Linked DNA regions of Homo sapiens: region 1 is linked to region 2. The links are contacts of gene promoters, found by promoter capture Hi-C in blood cells and fetal thymus (Javierre and others, 2016). All regions are on one chromosome and are shown on one strand. Each heading gives the region's core, a stretch centred on a gene start or on the middle of the fragment in contact. The rest is flanking DNA. Distances are from core to core; before and after follow the strand shown.

Region 1 (6,078 bases), core at 2,604-5,103, 120 kb before region 2:
ATTGGTCCTTTGTCAGATGCATAGCTTTCAAATATTTTCTCTCATTCTGTAAGTTGTCTGTTTACTCTGTTGATAGTATCTTTTGCAGTGCAGAAACTCTTTAGTTTAATTAGGTCCCAGTTGTCGATTTTTGTTTTTGTTACAATTGCTTGCAAGGACTTAGTCATAAGTTCTTCCCCAAAGCCAATATCCAGAATGGTGTTTCCTAGGTTTTCTTCTAGAATTCTTATAGTTTGAGGTCTTACAGTTAAATCTTTCATCCATCTTGAGTTAATTTTTGTATATGGTGAAAGGTAAGGGTCCAGTTTCATTTTTCTGCATGTGGTTAGCCAACTGTCCCAGCACCATTTATTGAATAGGGAGTCTTTACTCCATTGCTTAATTTTGTCAGCTTTGTCAAAGATCAGATGGCTGTAGGTATGTGGCTTTATTTCTGGGTTCTCTATTCTGTTCCATTGGTCTATATGTCTGTTTTTGTAGCAGTACCATGCTGTTTTGGTTACTGTAGCCTTATAATATAGTTTGAAGTCAGGTAATGTGATGCCTCCAGCTTTGTTCTTTTTGCTTAGGATTGTTTTGATAATTTGGGCGCTTTTATGAGTTCACATGAATTTTAGAATTGTTTTTCTAATTCTGTAAAAAATGATGTTGCTAGTTTGATAGGAATAGCATTGAATCTATAAATTGCTTTGGGCAGTATGGCTGTTTTAATGATATTGATTCTTCCAATCCATGAGCATGGAATGTTTTTTCATTTGTTTGTGTCATCTCTGATTTATTTCAGTGGTGTTTTGTAGTTCTCCTCGAAGAGATCTTTCACCTCCTTGGTTACATATATTCCTAGGGTTTCTCTCTCTCTTTCTCTCTCTCTCTCTCTCTCGCTCGCTTGCTCGCTCTCTGTGTATGTGTGTGTGTGTGTGTGTGTGTGCATGTCTCTTGTAAATGGGATTATGTTCTTGATTTGGCTCTCAGCTTCAGTGTTATAGGTGTATAGAAATGCTACTAATTTTTGTACATTAATTTTGTATCCTGAGACTTCACTGAAGTCATAGTTTTTATCATGAAGGGGTGTTGGATTTTAGCAAAAGCTTTTTCCATATCTTTTGAGATAATCATATTTTTTTGTTTTTCATTCCGTTTATGTGGCGAATCAATTTATTGATTTGTGTATATTGAACCAACCTTGCATCCTGAGAATAAACCCTACTTGATATGGTGAATTAACTTCTTGGTGTTCTGCTGGATTTGATTTGGTAGTATTCTGTTGAGGATTTTTGCATCTATGTTCATCAGGAATATTAGCCTGTCATTTTCTTTTTTCATTTTGTGTAAATACTGTATTTTCAATCTGCCTTTAGTTGAAAAAGATCTGTGTAAGTGGACCTACACTATTCAAACCTATGTTGTTCAAGGGTCATCTGTATAAGAAATTCCTAATCACTTTATCTGGAGAAGAGGAGCACAGGGCTGTGGTCTTTGAGCAGTGATAAGAGTTGATAGAGTGCAGGCCCTGGAATCAGACTGTTCCAGGTTCCAGTTCTCATTTTTTTATGTGTTAGATGTGTGGTCTTCAGTATGGTTGTCTCATGAGCAAAAAATGAAAATGATGAGGCATACCTCAGCTGGGAATGGAAACCAAATGTTAATGTTTAGTGTAGTATGCAGAGTGTGGTACCTTGGCTGTGGGCACAGCTGGCATCATGTCAGTGATGGGTGGTCACACTGTCATGATCACTGTGGGCATCATTGTGGCTGTCATTGTGGATTTTATGACACTAGCAAGCAGGTCACGCAACCTCTCAGACTTCAGTCACATCCTTCTCATGAATTGAGAAGCACACCTGAAGTGTGATTTTTTAAGGATTAAATGGGATTATGAGGAGATGTTTTATAAACATTTGTAAATTGTTTTTACTAATAAAAAAATGCTTAGATTACAAAAACAAGAGCATGCTTAGTCAGTGGCTCTTCAGAGTGAATTTTAGTTTCATTAGAATCCTTTCTTCTGAAATCTAGCTGAATATTAAGAAAGGGGTAATTTTGGAGATGCTGGAGTGAGGTGGTGGGCAGACCTAGGTAGAGCACAGCAGGTGGGGTCTGGTCCTTATTCAGGAGAAAATAGACACCAAACATGTGAGCAGGACACCCCAGGCTTGGAAAGGCCTGGGCTCATACTGAGTCAGTACACTCGCTTCGCTGAAGGACTTCAGAGGAAAGGAGGGAAACTGGCCAATCATTGCCACTTTGTCTTCTGTAGGGTAGATCCAACATCCAGCCTTTCTTTCTCTCATGAACTCTCAACCTATTCCAAGGATCTCTCATTTGTCTCCTGACCTACTGAGGCAGCCTCTAACTGGCCTCCTTTCATCCATGCCAGCCCCCTTCAGCGATCGGCCGCATCCCTACTCTGTATCACACTCTGCTTAAAGTGAGGCTCCCATGCTCCCAGGGTGAGAAAGGAAACTCCTCAGCAAGCCTGTAAGGCCCGATGTGGCCTGCTCCTGGCCTTGCTGACCAGCCCCATCTTGTCTACAGTGCACAGTTCTCAGTGTCCTTGTCACATGTGCCTTCTCCCATTCCCTCTAAGGGTTTGCTCCTGCTGACTTTACATGCATGGTTCCTTCTGCCGAGAAAGCCCTTTCCCCACTAGCACCAGCCCCTCTGCCCAGCCCCACACTTCACACTTCACCAAGGCTGGCCTCCTCACCCTCCAGAGCATCAAGTGCACCAAGATCAATGGTACCACATACTGCTCCTACTCATTTTATAGGCTTCCTCCTGCCTCTAGCCCCTTTGTTGGTCTTTACCATGGATTTGTATGCTAACAAATTACTTTTTTAGAGTAGACTTTGTTCTGTTGAAGAGAGTATTGAAGGGTCAAATAACTCCCACAAAGATGTCATGGGATAAGTAGAGACCATGCTGGGACAGCAAGAACCTGAGCTTTGGGGTATGGATTCTCGAGTTCAAACTCAAGATCTATCATGTACTCTCTCTGTGGTCTTGGACAGAATAGATCATGTCTCTGAGCTAAATTTTACCATGTATAAAATATGAGCAATAAATGCCAAGGTGCAGGGTTCTTCTAAGGATTCAGCGAAATAACATTAGAAACTCACAGGCATTGGGTCTCAGTGAATGGAGTTGAGTCTGAAGTTGAGTTGACTGTTGAGTAAAGCAAAGTTCTGGAAAGATGGTGTCATTAAAACTAAATCCTCTGATTAAAAATTAGTCTGTTCTTCTGGTATTACAGTAGGTGATGGATTTTCTACATAGGAAACTCATAGCTCCCGGGAAGCCTACAGGAAGCTTATTAACCTGGCATTGTATATGGCATGGGTTGAAAAAGGGAAGACAGGAAGTTAGGATCCCAATTGTCCTAGTTCAGAAAACGTCTCGGGCCAAAATTTGGATGGTTATAAAACTAGAAATAAGGGGAAAAATCTTTTAGAAAATAAAGACTGCATGGCCTAGCCACTGATTGTTTTATAAGGCAAAGAGGAAAAGGAGGATTCTATTAGGTAGGGTCTTGGCAGAGAACAGATTGGCAGTTTGAGAGGAGTTAAATGGAAGGACTCTTCACAAGTGTGTGAGAAGGACATTAAGAAACAAACAAAGAGAAGCAAGCATGACCCAGTACCAGGAGCCTAGTAACTGTGGCTCATGACCCACTGCTACCACAACTGCCCCTAGCTGGACCCAGAGACCCAGCTGGCTATGGGGTGAAGGCTGCCTGACAGGAACTGTGGCTGTGGCCCCAGGAAGGCAGCCAGCCTAGTTCCAAGGAAAGAACTAGGAGGATAAATATCCTGATCCTCCTCTTCTCTCTCCCTCAGATCTCCTATGGGTACCTCCCATTGGTCAAATCCAATCAGGAGCCAGAGGGCAAGGAAGGCATTTGATAGGTTCATAATGGTCAGCAGCTTCCCAGGGCACAGTCCAGAGTAGGGAAGCAGGCAGAACGGATCTGGAGAGGTGAGGGAGTTCAGAATAGAAGACACCCAGCACACGGGGCATGATGACCTTCCTCTGCTAATGCCATTGCCCAGATCAAGAAATCTAAGGATCCCTGAAGACAGGATCCTGACACACAAGAACGCAGTAGGATGCCCTCTCTAGAAATTCTACATCTGCAAAACAGATAAAGTAGAAGTGATTATTTACTCCACAAGGATAGAGATTGTTTTAAAACAGTACTTCCCAAATGAATGAAGCAGTTGTTGACAGATGATTACCTGAGGCTAAGAAGGGGTTAGAGGAATAACGTAAGGAACAATTTTAAAATCACCCAAAATGACTATAACACATCTCAGAAAAATCACAACGTGATTTCAAGAGCACTTGGATTGCGTAAAGGAAGTGATATCAATTCTGAACTCCAGCTTTCCTATCTGGCAAAAGCTTTATCTTGCTGAGATAGCATCTGCTGTGGTGAACGGTCAACAACTGGCTATTACCCAACTTTAGGCAGAAACCATTGTAAAAGTACAGAAAACAACCAGAAGTATCTGAACACCTTCGACTTTCTGGGTATTTTGCCAGATAAATTCTTCCTTTGCAGTTCTTAAGGGCACAGACTGAAGTTAGGTTGCTGGACTCAAATTCTAGCCCTGCTTGTACTTTCTGTGTATCCTTAGGCAAGTCACTTACCTTCTCTGTGCCTCACTTCCTCATCTCTAATGATAATTACAAGGAGGCAAATAATAGTGCCTCTGTCAGAGAAGAGATATAAAGAATAAATAAGTTAGTTGTGAATTCCTTAAAACAGTGCATGGCACATAACAAAGGTTTCTGAAATAAATAGTATATATTAGTTTGCTAGGGCTACTGCACCAAAGTGCTACAAACCGGGTGGTTTAAACAACAGAAATGTATTGTTTTATAGCTCTGGTGGCTAAAAGTCCAAAACGAAGGTGTTAGCAGGGTTCCTTCTGAAAGCTGCGAGACAAATGTCTACTCGAGGCCTCTCCTTTGCTTGGAGATGGCTGCCTTTCTCCCTGAGTCTTTTCACATCACCTTTATCCATGTGTTTCTCTGTGTCCAGATTCCCCCTTCCACAGGGACACCCGTCACATTGGATTAGGACCCATCTAATGATTTCATTTTAACTTGTTTATCCCTGTAAAGACTCTATTGCCAAATACGGTTATATTCTGAGGTACTGAGGGGTAGGGCCTCAAATATGAGTTTGTGGGGACACAATTCAATCCATAATAGAGTGTTTGTTAAGGAAATGACTCCTCAAGGAGATTTTCTTGTGTTTTGGTTTCCCCTGAATGTCAGCCACTGTCCACACTAGCGTGAGATGCTAACAGTTGGTTACTAAATGCAAGTCACTAAGTTTATCTATCTAGTCTTGATGTTTAAACCCTCATTTTGCTATCCCTGACCCATGGAGGTAGACCCTCTCTTCCTAAGAATCTGAAGGGAAGTGCTCTTACATAGGAGGTCCCCACATGGGAAGACCCCAGTAATTTAGTATGTCCACAGCCAGTCTGTTTGCCACACTTTCCACCCCACCTGGTCATTTCTTACAACTGTGGTGTTTCAATAGTGTAAGGGAAGTTAGTCATGACATTCGTTTCCAATCTTCCTAGTTCCTGGGCCTGTCCAACACAGGGAATAAGAATTGGATTGTTCATTTGTTTATTCATCAGGTATTTACTGGACACCAGCTCTGCACTAAGCATAATGCTGGAGATACAACAGTAAATAGAACCAATGTGGCCTTTAAAATCATGGGTCACACAGCTGGGCAAAATGTGCCTCCTGGTGGCCAATGTAAAGGGACACGTCTTATTTGCCCTACACCAGGTTTTTAGTGAATTTGAATTATTTGCCAACAATGGGAAATTGGGAAATCAGAAGTGGGATTTCTGGCTCTCTTAAAAACAAAATGAAGTCGGAGGATTTTGCAGCCCTGACCCAATTTTTCTTCCTAACAGCAATCAATAGGATTGCCTGCTTTGGATGGGGTATATACTTAGTTTCTGGCTTGCCACAATTATCACTTCCTATTAAATTACACAGTGACAGCTTAATATTTTTATGTCACCTTGCCACTGCAGTCCAGTAGAT
Region 2 (5,960 bases), core at 3,188-5,687:
TAAGTGGAACAAGAGAGGTTTTCATTGCAGCCAGCATCAGGCAGACACCCGATCAGAGGGCTCTGGGGATCACCCCACACAAAGGAGCATGGGAGAGGGGCCCTGAGCCAAGGAGAAGCCACACATCCACAGCAGCACACAGGGGCTGGGCAGCACAGCAGCATGTCTCCAGAAGGCCTGGTCACAAGTTCATTTCCCCCTGCAAATAAATAAGCAAATACGACAATCCCAGAGGACAAATGGGACCCCCAGGACACATGCATTAATAGAAGCCAAAACTGGCAGGCCTTACACACCCTTGAGTATGTTTTCACTGACTCATTCCACAAATACTATTACCATTTACTAGGTGTTTGGGCACTGTGCTAGATTCTAAGGATCTAGCAATGAGTAAGACAGCGCCCGCTCTCACAGCATTTGCAGTCTGGTGGGGGACAGGGAAGCATAGGTAAAGAAGCACATAAGAAATTATGTACTATTGACCCAGTGGAAGAACTGAGATTCACACGGCAATGAAGTTGACTTAGGAACCCAGATCTGAGCACCCATCTGTTGTTTTTCTTACTCTTCCTGAAGTCTCCTGAGATCACTGCAGGCTCAGTGAAGAAGGCACCCCAAACACCATAATAAGAAATCTGGACTCTCCGCTGAGGGCCCGGGGAGCCATCACATATTTTTAAGGGGGTAGTTGCACGGTCTGATTGGGATCATGGAATGGTCGCTCTGTTGGCCATGGTGGAAACAGTCCCTAGAGGTAAGGTGACAGGTTAGGAGGCTAGAGTATATTTCTCTCCCTGGAACAAATAGTCCTGAGCCTCCAAATTTTTCTTTCCCAGGGTTTCCCAGTTCCACCTGATAAGCGAAGAATGAGACTAGGGAGTATCATTTGTTTTCACAAGACAGGGAGCAGGAGGGAGTTGAAAGCTTTCTTCCTGGTATTGTTCACTAAGGCTAAATTTGATACCTTCTTACAGAGCTGGAGCTCCCCACATAGCATTCTTTAGACAAAATCCAGGCAAACCTGGAAAACTTGGAAGTCAGCAAAGTAGGTAGTGAAAAGGAAGATATGAGGCAGATTCTAAAAATCCTTGCCAGAGAGTTGCACTCAAAATGAAATGGAAAGGGGAAGAGAAAAGCAGGTATCACAACCTTCATTCCTATCCTTGCCCTGATGCTTATCCCCCAATAACCCACGATCCAGCCAACCTGAACTGCTTCACAGACACGTCCTGCTGCCTTTGAGCTCAATGTCTTTGCTCTCACTGCTCTTTGCCCATAATGTTATCTCCTCATTACACATTCTCAGTTGCCTGCCTTCCAAATATCTGTCATCCATTACAGCCTCCATGATTAGTAAAAAAGTCTTACTTTGTCTGATGGACTCCAAGACCACTTTATTTCTCCTCTGGTACTTTTCATACAATAATTTATATTATATTATTTTATACATGTCTGTCTCCTCTACTAGATTGTAGATTCCCTGAGGGTGAGAATCATTCCTACTTAGCATTTCTTCTCTCAATAGAAACTTGCACAGAGTGCAATCAATATTGCCTAAGCGAATTTATGGGCAGTGTGGATTGTTAGTTTTTATGAGGAATATAGAACTCACTAAAGGAAACATACAGAAAAAAAAAAAAGTTATTCCTTGTCCAAACCCGCAAATAACTTTTTCATCCATCTCAGTTACTCTGACAGCAACCAAGCTGTAGACAACTAGTCAACATTGCCACCTAGTGGACATTATGGGTAATTATTTAAACCAGAACCCCTATACCTTGCCAGCAACAATTTTTTGTTGATTCTCAGAACTGTGCACAGACTGTGTTCTCCCATTTCTATATCCTTCCCAGACCACAGCTCAGTTAATTCCACTCCATAAATTATTCCATTTTCCTTAGCCTTTTTTACTTTTTCGTTCCAATTCTCTGAATATATCTCCAAAGTCCTTGAAAGTTTCTGAAAGTTCTCTAAACATCTCTACAGGCTCATGCCTGTCATCCTAGCACTTTGGGAGGCCGAGGCCGGAGGAGCATTTGATCTCAGAAGTTCGAGACCAGCTTGGGCAACATAGTGAAACCTTGTCTCTATCTTAAATATTTTTTTAAACATTATAAAAATAAAAATATTTACAAAAGCCTCCGTCTGTTTTTGCAATAGTAACATTTCATACTGTTTTTCTAAATTATTTCAAATGAAATATTATGTTTTTAGAAGAATTAGTGAGCTAGCCTGAGAACTTAAAATACAATTTATGGGAGGCCGGGCGCGGTGGCTCACGCCTGTAATCCCAGCACTTTGGGAGGCTGAGGCGGGTGGATCACGAGGTCAGGAGATCGAGGCCATCCTGGCCAACATGGTAAAACCCCGTCTCTACTAAAATACAAAAAATAATAATAATAATAATTAAAAAATAAAATAAAATACAATTTATGGCCTTGTTTCCAAGTGTTCAGAGTTCAAACAATAAACTTTTAAAACTTAATCCACTGGTAAATTGTTGGTTGGCTGCTTTAGAATTGAAACTGACCTTTTCAAATTGGAAAAGGGGACAGCAACAAAAAGGAACTCAGAAAATAATAATGGCTCATATTTTATAGCTGTTTGTGGTTTATAAAGTGGGTTTGTATTATTTCATTTGCCCTACCAACAGTCCTGTGAGGACTTACAGTATGAGGCTTCCCATAGCACAGATGAGCAAGAAAACCTCATTGACGAAAAGTTATTATACTATGTAGTATTTAGATTGGAGCAAAAGTAATAGCGTTTTTTGCCATTACTTTCAGTGGCAAAAACCACTATTACTTTTGCACCAAACTAACAGAACAAGAGCCATGCACAAGTTTTCATACACTGTTCACAACATCACATTTGGTCTGAGTGCTCACACACACACACACTAAATTACTGATGCAATATTTTAAGAAAATGTTAATTTTAATTTGCCCATAAAAGCAATAGAGAAAATATTCCCGGCCAGGCTAGGTGGCTGGCGCCTGTAATCCCAGCACTTTGGGAGGCCGAGGCAGGTGGATCACCTGAGGTCAGGAGTTCGAGACCAGCCTGGCCAACATGGCGAAACGTCGTCTCTACTAAAAATACAAAAATTTGCCCGGAGTGATGGTGGGCGCCTGTAATTCCAGCTACTCAGGAGGCTGAGGCAGGAGAATTGCTTGAACCCGGGAGGCAGAGGTTGCAGTGAGCCGAGATCGCGCCACTGCACTCCAGCCTCGGCGACAAAGGGAGACTTTTCAAGAAAAAAAAAAAAGAAGAAAAGAAAATATTCCCAGTCCAGGAAAGTACAGGAGGGTCTTTCCCAGGCCTTTTGTTGCCTCCATACCTCTGTGGTAGCTGTTCCCTGTTCCAGAATGTTCTAAGTAGGGAACAGTGGTCAGCTCAAAGCTGAAAACCATGGCCTGGCCCATGGTGGGAGGAGCAGTGTCTAGGAGAACAATTGGTCCTGGACTTTATGAAGGGTCTTAAAGTCAGACATTTGATATTGTGTATAAATGAGTGAGACCTATTTTCACAGGGATATACTAATAAGGTGAAGAAGTTGACATTCTTCATACAGCTTTAAACTTAGATCCCATTACTGTTCCACACTGGTCATAGCAATATTTTCTACAATCTTGCGAAAAGTACACTTATATTGCACTGTATTTTGTATGCTAAAAGTATTCATTTCCACATTTTTTATCACCCTGTTCTGCATGTTTTCACGTGTTACTCATTTTTCTATTCTTTTTCTGAATTCTCCCAGATCCTCGTTATGTTTTCACGTTTTAGTACACAAGGAACCTCAAAAGTTGAAAGTGTCCCAAGCCCTTGCCCACCTTTCAGCAAGCCTCTCTTTCTCCCTTTCCCAGGTGCTTTTCTTTCTGAAGATCTTTGTTATTATTTAACTCCTCTTTCGCAACACCACTGACATTGCACCGGCATCGCCGCGGGCCCACTGTCTGGCTTAGAAGGTGCTCAAGAAAGACCCGCGGCGAATGGAGAAGACAAGCCCAAAGCCAGGAAATGGGTGGCGGCTGCAGGGAAGGGGGTTTTGATTCCCTAGGATAAAAACGCGCTCCAACAGTCTCCGCATTCCGGCATGGAGCCGGCTGAGGGGTGCGGTGGTAAGACCCCATCGCTAGCGGAGTGCAAGCAAAGCCGCACACCTCCTGGGTCCGGGCTGGGGCAGGCCGCGCGGGCGCGGGAACGAACGCGTGCGGACGGGGAAAAGGGTCCTCCAAGCCCAAGTGGGAGCGCCGCGGAGGGCGAGCGAGCGGCAGGGCGCGGCGGGGCGTGTGCGGCACCACGGGACAGCGGGCTGCGGCCCAGGGGGCGAGGCGTGCTCGGGTCTATTCCGGGAGCGGCTCTGAGGGGCGGGCGCGGGCGCGGGCGGGGCGGGGGCTGCCGGCGAGCATCCTGTCTGGGGGAGGGGACCGCAGAGAGCGCCGGCCGCTGGGCTGGCCTGAGAGCGCAGCGCGCCGGCCGCTACCAGCCGCGCCGGAGCCCCTGCGCCCTGCGGCCCGCTCCCCGGGGACCGGGCCGGCGCCATGGACCGAGGCCAGGGTAAGAGGGGCCGCGACGCCCGCACTTGTTGCGGCGCCGGGCGGGAAAGGGAGACTGGACGATCTGAAGCCGGAGAGGAGGAGGGAGAGAGGCGGGCGGTGGGGCGGGGGCTGAGGAACGCTCGGAGGGGACTGGGAGACGCGGCGCTTATGCAAAGGTGCCTTCGGCTGCCGGGACAACCCGGTGCGTGTCAACGCCCGTGTCCTGGGGCCAACTCGCCTCTCGTGTGTGAAATCAGAGTTTTCATAGGCTAACGATTTGTAACTTCATAAAAGATCCCCCTCTAGTTTCCGGAGGACAGCGAGCTCCTCCCACCTCATTCCACTCTAAAGGGGAAAACAAGGTGTACAGGTTCAACTCCCGAAACACCCGCTGTGGGCAGCCCCTAGGGAGAAGCTCTAGGGGACCGAAGTTTGCAGCTGCCTAGGGCATTGCGAGAAGGAGGAGCGCCGTGAGCAGGCGCGCGTGTGCATGCATGTGTGCGCCAGGGAGGGAGGAGGCGGGGGTGGTTCTATCCCGCACCAGCTGTGTCCTCGGCCCAGCCCTTCTCTCTGGACCAGCGACAAAGTTGGACTAGATGGTCTCCAAGGCACCTTGCCGACCCTTTTCCAGTGTATTTGGTAGACGTTTCACAGAAGTGGAGGGGACTTACTGAAATTGAGATTGACATAAGCCGAGAGGGCAGCATTCGTAGGGGGCTAGCGCACATTTTTTTCTGTTTGTTTTGTTTTGTTTGAGACGGAGTTTCGCTCTTGTTGCCCAGGCTGGAGTGAAGTGGCGCGATCTTGGCTCACTGCAACCTCCGCCTCCCGGGTTCAAGCGATTCTCCTACCTCAGCCTCCCGAATAGCTGGGATTAGAGGCATGCGCCACCACACCCGGCTAATTTTTGTATTTTTAACAGAGACGGGGTTTCACCATATTGGCCAGGCTGGTCTGGAGCTCCTGACCTCAGGTGATCAGCCGGCCCCGGCCTCTCAAAGTGCTGGGATTACGGGCGTGAGCCACCGCGCCCGGCAGCGCACATTTTAAGTAAAGGTCTAGACATGGCCTTTGGCAATGGCCAGATGGGCATGTGTGTGTCTGTAAAGAAGTGGCCTGCTTGGACATGTGAACAGTGTCAGAGGCTGGGAATCAGAACCCCAGGGTTTCAGTCTGCACCTCTGGGATCCAAAGAGATCACAGGTGTGACGGCACTAGATAAACTAGTGAGTGCTGTGCCAACAGGCGAAGTGTTGTTGTTGTTGCTGTTATTAATAATGGAAAATTCATTCCCCTCCCCACGATAATCTCACACCTCTCCCCCATCTGCCTGTTTGCTGTGCTGAGCCCCCGAAGGGAGGAAAAAAAGAAGGGAACAGGGGCATGGGAGCAATTAGCAGGCACTGGGGCAGGGAT

Evidence for each region. Contacts are between HindIII fragments. The CHiCAGO score rates a contact against its expected background, and 5 or more counts as called.
Region 1: a fragment that was not itself captured here is called in contact with the fragment with the promoter of AFAP1L1 in region 2 in 8 of 17 cell types (naive CD4 T cells, naive CD8 T cells, total CD8 T cells and 5 more); the score reaches 9.7 in naive CD4 T cells.

What each region holds. Positions count from the first base shown.
Region 1 is chr5:149,146,210-149,152,287 of GRCh38, forward strand. All of the region lies in intron 2 of ABLIM3 (actin binding LIM protein family member 3), which reads left to right. Among named protein-coding and RNA genes, the nearest start is that of ABLIM3, 7.8 kb to the left of the region's middle. RefSeq lists an enhancer at 1,046-1,215. The HindIII fragment of the contact is 1,092 bases long and covers 3,308-4,399 here.
Region 2 is chr5:149,267,422-149,273,381 of GRCh38, forward strand. It overlaps AFAP1L1 (actin filament associated protein 1 like 1), which reads left to right and starts at 4,438. Exons shown (of 19, transcript NM_152406.4): 1 at 4,438-4,563. The coding sequence starts at 4,548. RefSeq lists enhancers at 4,417-4,956, 4,957-5,498, 5,499-5,960. The HindIII fragment of the contact is 5,831 bases long and covers 923-5,960 here.